Linked DNA regions of Homo sapiens: region 1 is linked to region 2. The links are contacts of gene promoters, found by promoter capture Hi-C in blood cells and fetal thymus (Javierre and others, 2016). All regions are on one chromosome and are shown on one strand. The core of a region is centred on a gene start or on the middle of the fragment in contact, and the rest is flanking DNA. Distances in the headings are between cores, read along the strand shown. Region 1 overlaps MMUT (methylmalonyl-CoA mutase). Region 2 holds the start of MCM3 (minichromosome maintenance complex component 3).

Region 1 (3,378 bases), core at 290-2,789, 2.8 Mb before region 2:
GGGTGAAGGGGCTGTTGCTGGTGTAGAAGTCGTTGCTGTATGAGCCTGGAGCCTGATGATTCTTTTACCTGCCTCAGGTAATGAGGTGAAAGTAAAAAAAGCTGATTCTTAGCTCTTAACATGGTGGAGCATGGAAACACCCAATAGAAATAAGAACTGACCTAGAAAAAGAAACATAGAGTAAAAACATTTAGAAGAGGGGGTGGGAAATAGGAGCTACTCATAAGAAAGGAACAGAAAAGAAAGAGGATGTATTAGTCTGATTTCATTTCTTCCCCTTTTCTGCTTCCTGCACCTGATATTTTATAACTTTGGCCCCTCTTCTTCACAATTACTATCAGTCCTGTAGTTTCAGTCTTTTTCCTCAGTAGCCTCTTAGCTGGTCTTACTGACCAGTCTTACTCCTTTTCTACTCCATTCTATACGAATCCCTTCCATACAATGACATCAATGTAAATATGACTATGTCACACTCCTCATGGAATTTTTCAAAGACTCTGTATCATGTGGAAGATATACTACAGCCTCCTAATTAATTTTTTCATTCAAAGTGCTTTTATTAAATATCAGTTTATGACCGACATTATGTTGGGTAATAGAGAAAAAAGTGATGAATAAGACAAACAGGCATTCAAGGCCTTCATGAACTGGTCTCTGTTTCCCCCTCAGACCCATCTCTGTCTTTGTCCTCTTTATGCATTTTGTGCACTAGAAATACTGGATTACCTACAGTTGGCTGCACATATGTCAAAGTTTTCTGAATTTGCTCTTGCTCTTCCTTCTGCCTAAAATGTTCTTCTCTGGCTAATTCAGCTAAGGCATTATCTCCAATTTGCAGCGTTTCTATGTGCCAGTAACATAGAAGGCTATAAAGACATCACAGAGAGTAGCAATTTTAATCTTTACAATACCCCTAAGAGGTAGGTACTATTATTATCCTTATTTTACAGATTAGGAAACTGAGGCACAGAAGAGCCAGCATTGATTGGAACCTATGCAGCCTGTTTCAAAGTCCTTGCATTTAACTAATATGCACACAATTCATCCCAGAACCCATAAGGTGAGCTAAATGGCCTCTTCAATAATCTACTTCTGTGCTAGTTTATAAACTGCTCCAACATTAGAGCTGCATATTCCGGATAACTAGCATAGACTTTTATACTAGGTTGCTGGGTTCAGCGTCATCATTTTCCAGATGTAGAAACTGAGGCTCAGAGAAATAAAGTCGCTTGATCAAAATCCCACCTCACAAAGCCGTAAACTGTTTACCTGAATTACTAAAACTTGTCAGAGTCATACAGCGTAAACATATAGAGCCCATTGTTTAAAAAGATATTGAGATGCAAACATTAATATATTCACTATACTATGTGTTTTATACTGGATAAGGCAACAAGTAAAGGGAGTTTCAAATTTTATTTTCCATACCACTTCTTACCTATCAGTTTAGTAAAGCTTAAATGAAATCAATACTCAACACTTATTATGGGGTCGTTAAACAAGAGACATAAACCACTGGTGACAGTATTAACTATTTTAACTACTTTGGAAAGTAAATTGTCAATATACATGAAATGCTTCAGAAATGTTTATGCCATTCCACTGAGGAACATTACTCCTGGGAAAGCTTCTGTAGTAATATATAAAATAGATGTTTCCTATAGTTTTATTTGTAATAGAGAAAACTTAGGAAAATCGTAAGTATCTCATAACATATGAATAAGTGAATTACAGCATATACAAATGATAGAATTTCATGTAGTTATCAAAATATGTTTAGAAAGCTGGCAAAACTAATCTTTGATGTCAGAAGTCAGAAGAATGGTTACTTAATGGTTGCTAGAATACAACAGGAGCAAGAGAGGGGCTTTTGGGGGTAATGGTCTTGATCTGATTGCCACTTACATAGATATATTCTGTTTGTGGAAATTCATCAAATTATACAGTTATGTTTTATGCAGTTTCTGTAAATATATGTATAAGTAAAAAGTTAAAAATGTGTTATGCATAGTTTCCCAAAAAAAGAGAAACAAACTCAAAAAGTAGTAAGTAAAAGACTCAAGACACGTAATTGTAAGTGCAACAGGTTCAACTATGTAAAAAGTACATAGAACAAAGTCTAAATGGAAACATAACAAAAAAGGCTGGGCATGGTGGTTCACGCCTGGAATCCCAGCACTTCAGGAGGCCGAGGCAGGTGGATCACCTGAGGTCAGGGGTTCAAGACCAGCCTGGCCAACACGGTGAAACCCAGTCTCTACTAAAAATACAAAAATTAGCTGGGCATGGTGGCGCACACCAGTAATCCCAGGTACTCAGGAGGCTGAGGCATGAGAATCACTTCAACCCGGGAAGCAGAGGTTGCAGTGAGCAGAGATCGTGCCACTGCACTCCAACCTGGGCAACAGAGAGAGACCCCGTCTCAAAACAAAACAAAAAAACCTTCCATTTTTTTAATACTAGCACGATTTTTATTCTTTAAATCCATGGGGTCCTTGTCATCCATCTTTTTGCAAGCCATCCACTACATTTACTAGCTTAAAAGGTGGATGAAAAAAATAATGAAGCAACAACTAAACTGTTTCAATAGTAATCCTGTAAAAGGTAATTTGAAAACCACCTGAGACTAAACTGTTGGCAGGAAATATCACACTCATTTCACGTGGGCTTTCCTAAATCTGAACAACTAATAGGAAAGAGCCCCGTTTAAGTGACTTCCTGAAAATCACATGTGAATTGGTGGAGGCTGGAAACAGACACCATTTTTAGATAAAAACACAACTACTGCGGATGGCAATACGACCTCTGAATTTTCTCAGAAGACCATCAAGAGAGGCCTCAAGCATTCAAAGAAGCAACATGCAAAGCAAATATGTTACTGACAACTAAAATGAGTTAAAGAGCAATGATTAATCCCACCCCCACACCTCAAAAACAAATCAGTGAGAAAAAGATTTCTTGAACCAATAAGTTTCAAGCTTTGGCTGCTGACGTATGATTGCACATTAATACTTCAAGAAGGTACTTTGATGTTCAACTAGTTGGGTTTGGAGATGGAAACATAGGGCATGAAAATTATATTTGATATTAGCATAAGTACATCATTAAACACAAAATTATATTGGCAGAAAATCATCAAGTGGTTTAAAACTTTACACACATACGTTATCCAGGGCTTCGAGCTTCCCTAAGACCACCTTCTTTCTAGATAAAACTGAGAACGAGTTAGTAATGTAAGCTTTTATGTCAATTTAGACCTGTCTTTTCTATTCTACCTCTCACTCTTAACACTGTTTACACTCTTAATCCTGTTTACACACAGAAAATCACTTTTATTCCCGAAAACTCTTAGAAAAACCCTGACAATAACATAACCCA
Region 2 (3,084 bases), core at 169-2,668:
AGGTCATTCACATTGACAATCAGCCGGTATTGGTTGTCACTGATCAGCTCCCGAACTTTGCTCTGATAAATTCCCTGGTCTTCCTGCAAAACAGCCACCACATATCACCATAGCCACAAATTTAAAAACAATGTTTCTAAACAGAAGTAGTTCTCATAGCCAGATAGCTAAGTCAATCTCTGCAGCAGAGCTGAATCCCCAGTAAGTATGTGCTCATCAATTTCTCCCTTTCATTCACTGTTTTTAGATTCGAAATAACACCCTAAGAGGGGACTATAAGAATTATAATGACTTCCTCAAGGTCCATGCTGTTATTCCCATCATCATGGACAACTTTTCTGCATGCTGTAATTTCTGTCTTTAGTGGAGAATTAAAATGAGCTCATGAGAAGTCTAAATGGACAGTAAGTGCAAACTTTGTTAAAATGTTAAGTTAAACCTAGCAATGTGAATGTTAAAGGTAACAACGTGAATAGATGGATATGTTGTTTCACTGTAGTAATCATTTCACCATGTATATCAAAACATGTGCACTTCAAATATATACAATAAAAATGTAAATAAAACAGACTCTTAATAGTCACATTAAAATGGCTTTTCATTTAAGAATTATGTAAAAAGTAATATTTTTTCCAATCATCTCTATAATACGGAAAGGGTTCTCATACCCCGACCTAAAGGAATAGAGAATCTCAGCTATTTGGTCACATCATCAACCCTTCAAGATGGTTTTTTCAACATTCTATGGCTTTAAGTCTTGGGTTGCACATAAAATCCCCTTGGCCTGCACACAAAACACTTTTTATCTGCATCTTAGTTGGTATTGAAAAAGAATGCAGCCGAATTATGGAGTCTTTTCCTCCAGGTAAAACGTCAGTCCCTAAAATCTGAGCACTCTGCAACGCGGCTGGTCACTATAGCCCTAGGGCAGCCCCTCCCCCACAGTCTCCTCAAATCAAGAGAGAGCAGTGAAATGCAAAAGGCCGAGGTGGGCTTTGCCAATCTGCTTGCACTTAATGGGAACCTGTCGCCTTTTGCGCGCCCGGACCATCGCTTGTACTTAAGAGAAAGCTGGCTTCCTAAGAGTTCACTTATCGAACACAAACTAGCGAGTCCGGCGTTGAGAAGTTACAAGATTGGGGCTGGAGGCTCGGGCCCGGCAGGCTCCGCTGCGGCACACGGTCTGGAGGTCTGGCGGGCCTCTGGCTTCCCGGCCGGGCCGCGTCCGCAGGGGCTCCGAGCGCTAGAGCCCGCGCGCCGGCGCCTCCCTCACCTCGTCGTCCAGGAAGTCCAGGTAATCTCTCTGAGCCTCCCGCAGCTCCACATCGTCCAGCACCACGGTACCCGCCATGCCCGCTGCCAAAGAACTACCTCCACCAAAGTCGCGTGGAGGTTCCCAGGATGACTCCACCCCGGCGCGAAAACTTCCGAACTCTTCCCGCCACCAAAGGTTACCTCGAGGAAGAGGCGGGGACCTTGGGAGCATATAAGCATTATGATTGGCTGAGTTCTCTGAGGTCGGACTAGCGACTGTCCAATCAAAAGCTTCTTCTTCTTCGGGTTTTCCGCTGCGCGCCCCGCGGTGGCGGGAAACGTACCATCCGGGATTCTCTGTTCCTCCCCTCCCTCCGCCTCACTCACTGACGAGCAAACTGACCAATAGGGCTGAGAGGAGGCTCACAGAGGCTGGTCATTGAGCAGCTGGAGGGGACAGGCTGGCGAGAGGGAAAGCATTGCGTTCTGGGAGTTGTAGTGTTCTCCCTCCTTTCCGGATGTTTTTGCAGGGTTTTTCAAGCTGCAGAACTTTTGACCCGATGCAACGACCAAATTCAGAGGATGGTGCTTTATAACGCAGGGAGATGAAAACATAAAAGCAAATCATTTTTAAGATATATCCAAATCAGAACTGCCCTCCAGTGGCATCCTAGTGTAAAAGTGGATTTTGAGAATCTATAGGATAGAATATAGAACTACAGTACCTTAGGGAAAGATTAGTTAAAAACCCATTTGCTATCTGATACCGTTGCCTGACGAACTCCATAAAGACATCGCCGCAGAGAAGGATGAAGTGAAAAAAAAAATCTGTGTTTACCCTGCCCCCTAGAGACTTCATCGTGTGTTATACAAATTTTGGAAACCGTTACTACTCCATCTTACTTAATAACAGGTAAATTAAAGGCTTTCTGGTCTTATAAAAAGATCACAAGATCCTTTTAAGTAACTTAGCTTACTGAACGATCAGCTCAAGAGGGGAAAAAGTGTTTCACGTCACTTTGATTAAATATCAATCAGTAACTAACAGCAAATCTGAAACCATAATGACTAAAAGATCATCGCACGTCCAAATTTGTATGTTTGTTTTCAGTCCGTCGTGGTTGGCTTTTTCTTATATTTCTAGTTTTATTTTGAGATATAATGTATATACAGTAAAATGCACAAATCTTAAGTGTACAGCTCAGTGAATTTTTACCTGTGCTTACACCCATGTAACCACTCTGCACAATAAAGAGCAAGCCCATTGCCCCAGCATGTGTTTTTAATTTTACTGAACAAGAAGCTGAAATACTGGATTGCCCAACATCAGACATTTGATAATTCTTTATCTGAAATTTCAGCCAACTATTAGCTTATGTTTTAAAGTCTTCAGGACTCACTATGTACTGATAAATATTCTAAGAATAATCTGCCTAAACAAAATATATAGGCCATCTATTTGTGTGGGTATATGTATTTCTAGTTATTATTCAGTTTATAGTTACTGTATGTTTTGTGCCATCCTAGTGGGCAGATAAATCGATCCTTAGCCAAAGCAAAAAGGCTGTCATTTGACTGCTTGCTTTTATGTTTATTAACGGGCAAAAAAAAAAGAAAATTCTAGAATAAAGATACTGTTTGCCGTTATATAGCAAGAGGTAATTACTGATTTATTAAGACTTTTTACTCATAACTCTTATTTTATGAACTTATTGGACAGAGTACTGAGATATCCTCTGCTCTGGAAACAATTTGAAATTAACACTAAAAGAACCGGGAAGCTTAGTTCAAACTAGCAAAGAAGTCGAGTCATTTGTAGTAGAAAGTCCA

What was found. The method cuts DNA at HindIII sites, captures the fragments that hold promoters and counts their contacts. A CHiCAGO score of 5 or more calls a contact.
Region 1: a contact is called between a fragment that was not itself captured here and the fragment with the promoter of MCM3 in region 2, in 1 of 17 cell types (total B cells). The highest score is 5.7, in total B cells.

What each region holds. Positions count from the first base shown.
Region 1 is chr6:49,459,345-49,462,722 of GRCh38, forward strand. It overlaps MMUT (methylmalonyl-CoA mutase), which reads right to left. Exons shown (of 13, transcript NM_000255.4): 2 at 1-161. The coding sequence starts at 122. Among named protein-coding and RNA genes, the nearest start is that of MMUT, 2.2 kb to the right of the region's middle. RefSeq lists an enhancer at 3,092-3,378. The HindIII fragment of the contact is 172 bases long and covers 1,454-1,625 here.
Region 2 is chr6:52,283,324-52,286,407 of GRCh38, forward strand. It overlaps MCM3 (minichromosome maintenance complex component 3), which reads right to left and starts at 1,419. Exons shown (of 17, transcript NM_002388.6): 1 at 1,274-1,419; 2 at 1-83. The coding sequence starts at 1,351. RefSeq lists enhancers at 1,297-1,376, 1,697-1,896. The HindIII fragment of the contact is 4,216 bases long and covers 1-1,543 here.